3 separate regions of the Homo sapiens genome follow, and regions 1 and 3 are each linked to region 2. The links are contacts of gene promoters, found by promoter capture Hi-C in blood cells and fetal thymus (Javierre and others, 2016). All regions are on one chromosome and are shown on one strand. The core of a region is centred on a gene start or on the middle of the fragment in contact, and the rest is flanking DNA. Distances in the headings are between cores, read along the strand shown.

Region 1 (3,855 bases), core at 182-2,681, 61 kb before region 2:
AGGCGCCTGCCACCACGCCCAGCTAATATTTTTATATTTTTAGTAGAGACAGGTTTCACCATGTTGGCCAGGCTGATCTCAAACTCCCAACCTCAAGTGATCCACCTGCCTCAGCCTCCCAAAGTGCTGGGATTACAGGCATGAGCCACTGCGCCCAGTCAAACAAAAACCTTAAATCAGTACAAGAAATATTTTCAAAAAGCTAAAGGAAACCATATCTAAAGAGTTTATAGGAATGATGAGAAGAATGTCTCACCAATAGTGAATACAGATAGAGAAATTAGACTGGAATATTATTTGGCCATAAAAAGTTCCATCTATTTTAGAATACGGATGAACCTTGAAATATGCTAAGTGAAGGAAGCCATGTACTATATGATTCCATTTAGATGATATGTCCAGGATAGACAAATTCATAGAAACAGAAAGTAGATAAATGGTTGCCAGGGGCTGGAAAGAGACGGGAATGAAGACTGCTAATGGGTATTGGGTTTGTTTTTGGGGTGACAAAAATATTCTATTCTGGAATTAGATAGTGATGATCAATGCACAATTTTCTAGATATTCTAAAAATCACTAAATTGTATACTTTAAAAGAGTGAACCTCATGATATCTGAATTTTATATCAGTAAGATTGTTATTAAAAAAATTCATAAGCTGGCTGGGCACGGTGGCTCACACCTGTAATCCCAGAACTTTGGGAGGCCAAGGTGGGCAGATGGCTTGAGCCTAGGAGTTCAAGAGCAGCCCAGGCAACATGGCAAGACCCTGTCTCTACTAAAAATTAAAAAAAAAAAAAAAAAAAAAAAAAAAAAAAAGCCAGACATGGGGTGGTATGCACCTGTGGTCCCAGCCACTTGGGAGGCTGAGGTGGGAGCCCAGGAAGCAGAGGCTGCAGCGAGCTGAGATCATGTTACTGCACTCCAGCCTTGGTAACAAAGTGAGACCTTGTCTCAAAAAAAAAAAAAAATTCACAAGCTAAAAATTACACATACACAAATTTTATCAAGAGTTTTAAGCAAAGAGTATGAGACTAAAATCAATGGAAACTTTTTCAAAATAATCTTTGCTTTCTTTAAGGCCTGGGATCTTGTAGGGGTATAGGGCTCTTTAGCTAGTCTGTCTGTTATGAAAAATCTATATGAAAAGTTTCCCTCTAACTGCTTTACAGAAAAAAGAAAATTCCCCTCATACGGCCTAGAAAAATGTACCTAGATTTTTTAATTTACCATAGAGAGATAAGAACATATTACAACCATGATATAAGAGCAGAACATTCAACACACACACAAAAATGAAAGAATAAAGATAAGAGCCTTGAAATAAAAAACCTGAGTTTTTTTACCTGAGAAATTAAAAACCTACGAGAAGAAAAATGGGAGGAAAAAAACATCAACAGAAAAATTCAAAGATAAAGAAAAGCTCATAGAAAGTAAAGTAAAAAGGCAAAAAGAAGAAAAACAGGAAGGAAAGATTAGCAAATTAGAGGAGCAATCCTGGAGGCCCCATATCCAAATAAGAGAATTCAGGAATAAGGGTCCAAGAAAACGGAAGGAAAGAAATTAACAAATAGTTTCAAGAAGATTTGCCTTACTAAAGGACAAGAGAGCCCAGGACAATGGATGAAAACAGACCAACACCAAGGCACATCACCATGAAATTTCAAAATAGAACAAGAGAAGACTCTACAATTTTCAGAGAAAAATTAGGCCACATATACAGGACTGAGGATCAGAATGGCTTCAGAGTAACACTGGGAGGCAAAGGACAACAGAACGACGCCTTCAAAATTTTGAAGGGAAAAGAACTGTATACTCAGCTAAGACACTTTCAGACATATGCAGTCTCAAAATATTACCTCCCAACTGACCCTTTTCCAAGAAGCTACCAGAGGATGTATTAGACCAAGCAACAGGAGAGAGGTAAAGGGCAATCTCCAGGGTAGAGAAGTCAGACAACAATTGTCATTAAACAGGCATAAAGGACAACTGGTCCAAACCAAAGCAGGTCAGAAGGTGCTGGGAAAAACTTAAGGAAAATGAAACCGAGAGAACACCAGATGCAACTAAGGTATAACTGAGAGAAAACGAACAGATCTAATGCATCTGAAGAGCAGTTTAGACAATCAAGAGAAAGTGGGAGGTTGAGTTCATAATATATGCACAGAAAACCAGGCAAATGAAAAAACAAGACGTTATAACAACCACCACTAAAAGAAGTGGTACAAGAAAGGAAAAGCAATCACAGCTTACCACTTGGCTCTTTGTGAATAGTGTTTACATAGCCATAATCATATAAACACTGAATACTGATCTAACCAAAATTATAACAGAATTACATAGGAAGGATGAGGGGATAGGAAAGGTGTGCCTTCAAGGTGAAGGCAGAGGAAACAAAACAAAATCCTCATCTTCCATGATGGAAAGCCAAAAGATAATACCTAAAACTAAAAAATCAAGAAGTAGGAATCTATAATACACAAGATATAGCAATATCCATTAGAACCATGAAGACGAAAACCAAAATAATCAGCTAAAAAAGGTGAAAATGAGTGTCATTAGGGAAGAGAAATTGGGAAATACAGTTGTTATTATTTAACTGTTTAACTCTTTTCTTTTTTTTTTTTTTTTGAGACAGAGTATCACTCTGTCACCCCAGGCTGAAGTGCAGTGGCACAATCTCAGCTTACTGCAACCTCTGCCTCCCAGGTTCAAGCGATTCTCCTGCCTCAGCCTCTCCAGTAGCTGGGATTACAAGCGCCCGCCACCACACCCAGTTAATTTTTGTATTTTTAGTAGAGACGGGGTTTCACTATGTTGACCAGGCTGGTCTTGAACTCCTGACCTCAAGTCATCTGCCTGCCTGGGCCTCCCAAAGTGCTGGGATTACAGGCGTGAGCTGCCGTGCCCAGCCTGAACTATTTAACCCTTCAAAAACCATGATAAAACTAAAAAGTGAGTGAATAAATAAAAGTGAGAAAAGATGGAAATTGTGAAGTAGGGAGGGTGAGTAGATGGGAAATAAAAATAATCTTTAGCTTTTAGGAACTAAAAATAAAAACAAAATTTTTAAAAGGATTATAAACAGAGGAGAATATGTTTATAGCCTTGAATTGGGCTAGGTTTTTCTAAGCAACATTAACACCCAAAAGGTATAATGGAAATATTGGTATATTTTATCTCCTAAAAATGTAAAACATTAGTACAACAAAAGGTACCAAGAAGTTAAAAGTGACTAGGGAAAAATACTTGTAGCATACTTAAGAAAAGACAATATGTACAATATATGAACTGTTTCTAAAATTAACAAGAAACAACCCAAGAACAAAACATGAGTAGTCAAAGAAATACAGATGTTTAGTAAACAAAAGAAGTAGCTATCATACTAGTAATCAACACAGTACAAATTAAAATTATTTTCCCTCAAATGGCAAAAGTGTAAAAATTGAAAACTGCGTATCTTACATTGATCAGACAAATGGACATTTGCCTCAAAGCCTCTTGGTAAAAGTATAAACTGGCCAAAGTAATTTTCACAGGATTTTAAAACTATAATATCTTTGACCCCTAGAATTCCACTTGTAGTAAGCTAGCCTACAGAAATGTATGCACATACACTGAGAAACATTTAACACGAATATTCACTACAGCACTGTGTATAGTAACAGAAATTGTTACAGCCTAACATCTACACATTATGCAATTTTTGCAATTTTTTAAAAACACAAGAAAAAAGAAATAAGTATACCTATATTAAAGACAAAGATTCCCAAAACATGTAGTTATATCTAAAAAAAAAAAAATCAGGATATGTTTCTTTGCATGCAAATACAGGAAGATACACAGAGGATTACG
Region 2 (3,386 bases), core at 647-3,146:
TCTTGACCTGAGTGAATTGATAGTTCATTCCTGTGAACTATGAGATTTAAAAATTTCGATCAGGATACTGCTGGGTGCTACAAGTATCTACCTGCCACCTTCAATGAGGATTCTTTGCCCAACTCATTAATCCAGCCAATTAATAACTGTAGTATCAAGAACATCAGAGACTGTCAGAAAACTTCGGTTGAAATCCTGGCTCTGTCATGTATTAGCTGAGTTACCTGAACAAAACCATTTAACTTCTCTCACTTCCTTAACTATAAAACAGGTGTGAGGATGCCCACTACAAACAATTGCTTTTTATCAAATAAGACATCAGTAAAAACACTTGGCAGAGTAGCCCTGCAAACATATTTCTTTCATTATTATCAATACTACTGAAAATAAATAATCAATAATAAGCTACAAGAACAAGATGCAGACAATGCAACAGGATACATATGCACCCTGTAACTAAGTACCACTGGAAGAAAAGGTTCACAACTCATGGAAATCTGTCAAGGCAAAATAACTGTCACCCTTTTTGAACCACCAGCCAACGAAAAAGCTAAAGATTAAAATCAACAATTTGCTACGCTAAATGAAGGGTCACTTAGAGAAGGTTGCCTGAGTCACTTACTGTGCATGTTGAGAGCCCAGAGTCTTCCGAAGCTACTCTGAGTCCACTTTCTAAACATGTTACTCTTGTTTCAGGAACATTCAGAACAACTTGGGTAGCAGCCTGTGTACTTCTTAATCTGTTCTCTCCAAAATATAATGACTGGTTGGGGGTAGGAAGTGGAAGAGACAAAGCAAAACACATTACTAATCTGATATTAAATGTTGCTTTTAAAACCAAATCTATTTTAAATAGGCTGTCTCTATAAAAGAATCTTTCTTCTTGAATTTTGGTTCCACTGAGATCTCTGCCTGGCCTAGAAACATCTGTCACCAGCCACTGTCCTAAAGCCAGCAACGTGTTTATAAACATGCCCTTCCCTCAGGGAAGATGAGCAATTATTATCATTACCCAGAGAGAAATTGACTTTATTTCACTACCTCTCCTAGAAATGTTTTATATTCATTATGGAGAAAACAAGCAGGAAAAAAAAAAAGAGAGGGAAACTATGTAAAACTACCTACACACAAGACAAAACTGACACTCGGGTTTTCATTGTTCAAGAAAAGCAACAGGGTTTGGAAATGGTTAAAAAAAAAAAGAGAGAGAGGATAGGAAGATGGGTCGATGTTCAAAATGCAAATGACTGGCTTTTCGGCCAGAAACTATTCGCCTTTCAGCAGTTTTTCTTTGCCCTTATACAAAAGTCTCACATCCCTTTGCTTAAAGTCAGAGGCTCTCTCATGAGAAAAATGCAAATACATAAAAAATTTTACTTCATTGATGTCCAGGTTCGCGGGAAGCCCAGCTGAGGACGAAGTTCAGTCTTAGGCAAAAATAGAACTCTGGAGCGGTACCCATTTCACTTTTTAGTTTTCCCCAATTTGCAAGCACTACGTTTTTAGTGGTCAAACATGCACTCCTCAGTAGCTGGCGGGAGGAGCCGAAAACCAGGGTCATCCCACACGTCACTAGCAGGTCTCCTGGCGGGTGGCCACAAGCCAGTCACCCCCGGCCAGTTCAGCAGCCCCAGGCCGCCTGGCGCCCGGCGGGTCCGGGTCGAGGAGGCCCTGCCCGACCCACTGTTCGGATCTGTGGCGCCGACTCTCAGGTGCGCTGCGCCGGGTCTGGCGAGATCTCGAGGACAGGACCGGCCTGGAGGGAAGCTCACCCGTCCCGCAGCGCCTCGGATTAGAAGACTCTCGCTGAAACCCCAGAGCCGCCGCCGCGCCGCGGATGACAACACCACTCGAGCCGCCGCAGCCGCCATTTCTGCTAGAAGGAAGGTAGAGGATGAAGGATGTGCTTCCGGGGTCGCGACCTGAGGTCCCAGAGCAGGGAGGTGGGCTCCACCTTGTGGCCGTGATGGGAATGACACTCCTCGAAGCGGTTGTGAAAGCAATCAGGGCCCGACCATGATGCTGAGCGGTCTTTACCAAATGAATTGGGGAGTCTGCAGAAGCCCCTTTATCATCAGTTATTTTATCGATCGCCTACTAAGTGCAAGGCACAAATGCGGTGGAATGAAAGGTAACCTGATGCAATATATCTCACTGGTGGATGGAATTGATTGAAAACAGTGGAATAATATTCATAAGTCACTGCCTTTAAAGGAAAAGTCTAGTGGGAGAGACAGATGCCGTGAGGGGAGGAAACGATGTATCCGTGTTGACCACTATCCACTCTTCGAACCTCTACAATATGGCTCATCTCATTCCATAGAAATTGCCCTTGGTAAGGTCACTAATTGCTAAAAGTTGGACACTTTACAGACTTATGTTACAGTCCTGTTGGAGGATTTGACATTGTTGGCTTCTTTGAAATTCTCTTTTCTCAATATATTCTAGAGCTCCACCTCCTCATAGTTCCCTCTGCACCTTCTTGGACTCCTCTTTATTCACAGATCTGTTTTTTGTTTTTGTTTTTGTTTTTGAGATGGAGTTTCACTCTTGTTGCCCAGGCTGGAGTGCAGTGGTGCAATCTCAGCTCACTGCAACCTCTGCCTCCTGGGTTCAAGCAATTCTCCTGCCTCAGCCTCCCAGGTAGCTGGGATTACAGGCATGTGCCACCACGCCTGGCTACTTTGTATTTTTAGTAGAGATGGGGTTTCACCATATTGGTCAGGCTGGTTTTGAACTCCTAACCTCAGGTAATCCACCCACCTCCACCTCCCAAAGTGCTAGGATTACAGGCGTGAGCCACTGCGCCCAGCCCACAGATCTCTCAAGGAACTAAAAATTGCAAATGCTTTTCTAACTCAGGTAGATGGTATAGTGCTTATTTTGCAATTAAGACACTGAAGTCAAATAACTTGCCCCAGGTTACCCTGCTAGTAATAGGTTAACGCCAAAGACTGTGCTGTGAAACACTACATTTTGCCCTAAAAGTTGGTGTTTGCCAGGACTCTAAGCCTCTTCTACTGAACATTCTCCCTCTGGGTTTTTCCCTCCACTTCAAGACCTGTCTGCCCAACCCAGGCCTTTCTCTTGAGCTCCAGCCCACTTAACCATCAACTACTAGGAAACTACACTTGAATACCCCATTGGAAACTCAATATCAACTTGTCCAAAAGGGAATTCACTGTGTCCCCTGAATCTCTTCCCATATTTGCAATGCCAAACAGCCAATCATACCTACATTTGCCCAAAACTCCAAACCACCCAGAAGCTCCTCTCTTTTTCCATCTTCCACATTCAATTGATACACCCCTTTCCTGCCTCTTCAATCTACTCCAGGCCCATTGTCAGTTTTTTCACATTACTACCTATAGGATCTTTTACAAATG
Region 3 (3,391 bases), core at 723-3,222, 42 kb before region 2:
TAACTATGATTTAGCATCTGTTTATTACTAAGTCTTGAGAGCATTAGCACTAGCCATGAGATACTGTCTCTGCTGGAGAAATCCAGGAAGAGTTCACAGAAAAGATAATGTTTGCACCGGTCTTAAAAGGACAGGCAGCAATTAGTGAAGCAGAGAAGTGAGAAAAGTATTCTGGGCAGAAGGAGTAAGATATACAAAGACACAAAGGAGTAAAAGAATATGTAGTGCCTCTTGAGGAATTGATAAGTCGTATAGGGTACATGCGGTATGGTGATGAGAAATCTAGTGTCTTTAAAAGGACACTAGACCAAACTCTGTTGTGTCCTTTTTATACCATGCTAAAGAAGGAATTAAAATTTATTTTTGGGACAGTAAGATACCATCAAAAGTTTCTTAGCTAATTTTAGAAAAGTAATTCCCTTGGCAGTACAGGAAATTGCTTGAAAGGGGGCAAGGGACTGGAGGGGAAGTGAATAGTTTACTGTTATAGGGCTAGTGCACTAAGGCAGACCTGTGACTGAATCCTTGAACTTACTATGTGGCTGGGTTTTGAGGAAGAGGGGTCAGATTTGCCTTTTTTGGAGGTAGCATTAACAGGCTTTGGTGACCCTGGCTGTGTGGCACAAGACAAAGAGAAGTATTCAGAGGTCCTTCCCAGCATTAGCGCTTGAGTGACCTGCTAGAGTGTGTGGTCAGTAACCAATGCTGGGATGAGGATAAGAATGTTTGTGGGAGGTGCTGTTTGTGTCCAAGTTTGACTATGTGAAGACTGAGGTTTTGGTACCATAGTGGTGAAGCTGTCTAGTAGATGGTTAGAAATTGGTCTATGACTCCAAAAAGAGGTTACAGCCAAAGACTTTTTGAAGTCATTGGCACATAGTGGTGGTTGCTGTGAGGAATTGAATGACAACAGCAAGGGACAAAAGTATAAACAAATAGATAATGCTTTAGTAGGTACTTGTATAATAGTTAAATGCGTATGCTGTGGAATTGGAGTGCCTGAATTCAAATCTGGTTCTGCCATTTGGTGCACTTCGACCTTGGGAAAGTTCCCAGATATGTGTGTACCTCATTTCCCTTGTTGCTACAGTGAGATTGTTAACAGCTCAAAGGTTTACCTTGAGGATTAATAAAAGGATGCTTATAAAGCACTTAAGTTAGTACTTGCTGCATGATAAATGCCAAACAAATAATGGATAATAAGAGTTCCTATGTCATTGGTTGTTTAGAGGACTAAATAAGCTAAAGCATATGTATAAAACATTTAGAAAAGTAAGCACTCAGAAAGTGTTAGCTGATTCTCCCACCACCTCATCCATTTTAAAAGAAAAAGACAACATTGGGGAGCATGGATATTTAAGGGGTAGGAAGAGGAGGAAAAACAGCAGAAGATACTAAGAAGGGTGACAGAAGTAGAAAGAAAACAAAGAAAAAGACACTTTGTTATTTGAAGAAATACTTCCTAAACATCAGGCAGCGTATTCTTCCAGAAACTAAGGGAGGAGCAAGAGGGAAAAAGAGGCAGGGTGCAGTGGCTCATGCCTGTAATCCCAGCACTTTGGGAGGCTGAGGCGGGCAGATCACCCGAGGTCAGGAGTTCGAGACCAGCCTGACCAACATGGTGAAACCCCATCTCTACTAAAAATACAAAATTAGCCAGGCGTGGTGGCACATGCCTGTAATCGCAGCTACTTGGGAGGCTGAGGCAGGAGAATCACTTCAACTCAGGAGGTGGAGGTTGCTGTGAGCCGAGATCATACAATTGCACTCCAGCCTGGGCAACAAGAGCAAAACTCTATCTCAAAAAAAGGGGCGTGGGAAGAGTCACCTGTGTCACTGCTTCAGAAAGAGGTCAATCACATAACATGAAAAATTATTTTAAAAAACACTGGACCGGGCATGGTGGCACATGCTTATAATCCCAGCTACTCAGGAGGCTGAAACAGGAGAATCGCTTGAACCTGGGAGGTGGAGATTGCGGTAAGCTGAGATCGTGCCACTGCACTCCAGCCTGGGCAACAAGAGTGAAACTCCATCTCAAAAAAAAAAAAAACCATTGGATTTGGCAAACTAAAAGTTTCGGTGTCCTCATTGAAAGCAGTTTGAGTAAAATGATCGGGAAGGCAAGAGATTACAGTGAATGAAGAGTGATTAGGAAGTGATGAAGTAGGATCAAAGTGTAAAGTACTCTTTCAAAGCTGGGTAGTAAAGAAAATGAGAGAAGATAGTAACTTCAGGAGAAGGCAGAGTCGGGAAAAGACAGAACTGGGGAGTGTTGAGATCTATAAGAGGGAGAAGGTCTTTGGTATAGAAAGAAGTAGATTGTATCAGAGTAAGGTAGCAGAGTTCATTCACTTGTTCAGTTTATTTTCATTCATCAAATATGGATCAAACACCATGTCAGATACTGTTCTAGGTGTCAAGGATACTGTACTGAACAAGACAGTATTACTGCTTACACACAGCTTATATTCCAGTGACATAATAAGTAAACAAGAACATGTAGCCATAAGTTCCATAGGATGGCCATAAGCTATCAACAGGTGCTAAGAGAAAAAAGGGGTCTTTGGTCAAGTAAGTTTGGAAAATGCTAGGTTTTACAGGTTTCTGTTTGTTTATTTTTTAAATCTAATTACAGGACTTCTCAGAGCCTTTCTTAGGCCTTTGTGCATACAAATCATCAAGGAGGCTGTATAATAGTCCACATTTACCTCTTTTTTAAATTTATTTTTTATTTTATTTTATTTTGAGACGGAGTCTCACTCTGTTGCCCAGGCTGGAGTGCAGTGGCGCAGTCTTGGCCCACTGCAACCTCCGCCTCCCAGGTTCAAGCAATTATCTTGCCTCAGCCTCCCGAGTAGCTGGGATTACAGGTGGGCGCCACCACGCCCGGCTAATTTTTGTATTTTTAGTAGAGACAGGGTTTCACCATGTTAGCCAGGCTGGTCTCAAACTCCTGACCTCATGATCCACCCACCTCAGCCTCCCAAAGCACTGGGATTACAGGCGTAAGCTGGCATGCCCAGCCTGTCTCTTCTTTTTTTTAAAGACAGGGTCTTGGCCGGGTGCAGTGGCTCACACCTGTAATCCCTTGGCCCTTTGGGAGGCCAAGGCAGGTATATCACCTGAGGTCAGGAGTTCGAGACCAGCCTGACCAACAAGGTGAAACCCTGTCTCTACTAAAAATACACAAATTAGCCAGGCGTGGTGGTGTGCACCTGTAATCCCAGCAACTTGGAAGGCTGAGGCAGGAGAATTGCTTGAACCCGGGAGGCGGAGGTTGCAGTGAGCCAAGATGGCACCACTGCACTCCAGCCTGGGCAACAGAGCAAGACTCCGTCTCAAAAAAATAAAATAAAATCTTAAAATCATTAAAAAAAAAAAAAAAAAG

What was found. The method cuts DNA at HindIII sites, captures the fragments that hold promoters and counts their contacts. A CHiCAGO score of 5 or more calls a contact.
Region 1: a fragment that was not itself captured here is called in contact with the fragment with the promoter of PMPCB in region 2 in 13 of 17 cell types (activated CD4 T cells, total CD8 T cells, M2 macrophages and 10 more); the score reaches 9.2 in activated CD4 T cells.
Region 3: a fragment that was not itself captured here is called in contact with the fragment with the promoter of PMPCB in region 2 in 15 of 17 cell types (total CD8 T cells, naive CD8 T cells, activated CD4 T cells and 12 more); the score reaches 13.8 in total CD8 T cells.

What each region holds. Positions count from the first base shown.
Region 1 is chr7:103,356,103-103,359,957 of GRCh38, reverse strand. The region is part of intron 4 of PSMC2 (proteasome 26S subunit, ATPase 2); the gene reads right to left. It also overlaps a transcript of SLC26A5 not described here. Among named protein-coding and RNA genes, the nearest start is that of PSMC2, 10 kb to the right of the region's middle. The HindIII fragment of the contact is 5,225 bases long and covers 1-3,855 here.
Region 2 is chr7:103,295,945-103,299,330 of GRCh38, reverse strand. It overlaps PMPCB (peptidase, mitochondrial processing subunit beta), which reads right to left and starts at 1,896. Exons shown (of 13, transcript NM_004279.3): 1 at 1,773-1,896; 2 at 623-763. The coding sequence starts at 1,871. RefSeq lists enhancers at 1,642-1,941, 2,042-2,101. The HindIII fragment of the contact is 11,349 bases long and covers 1-3,386 here.
Region 3 is chr7:103,338,267-103,341,657 of GRCh38, reverse strand. All of the region lies in intron 2 of DNAJC2 (DnaJ heat shock protein family (Hsp40) member C2), which reads left to right. It also overlaps a transcript of PMPCB not described here. Among named protein-coding and RNA genes, the nearest start is that of DNAJC2, 4.8 kb to the left of the region's middle. The HindIII fragment of the contact is 4,443 bases long and covers 1-3,391 here.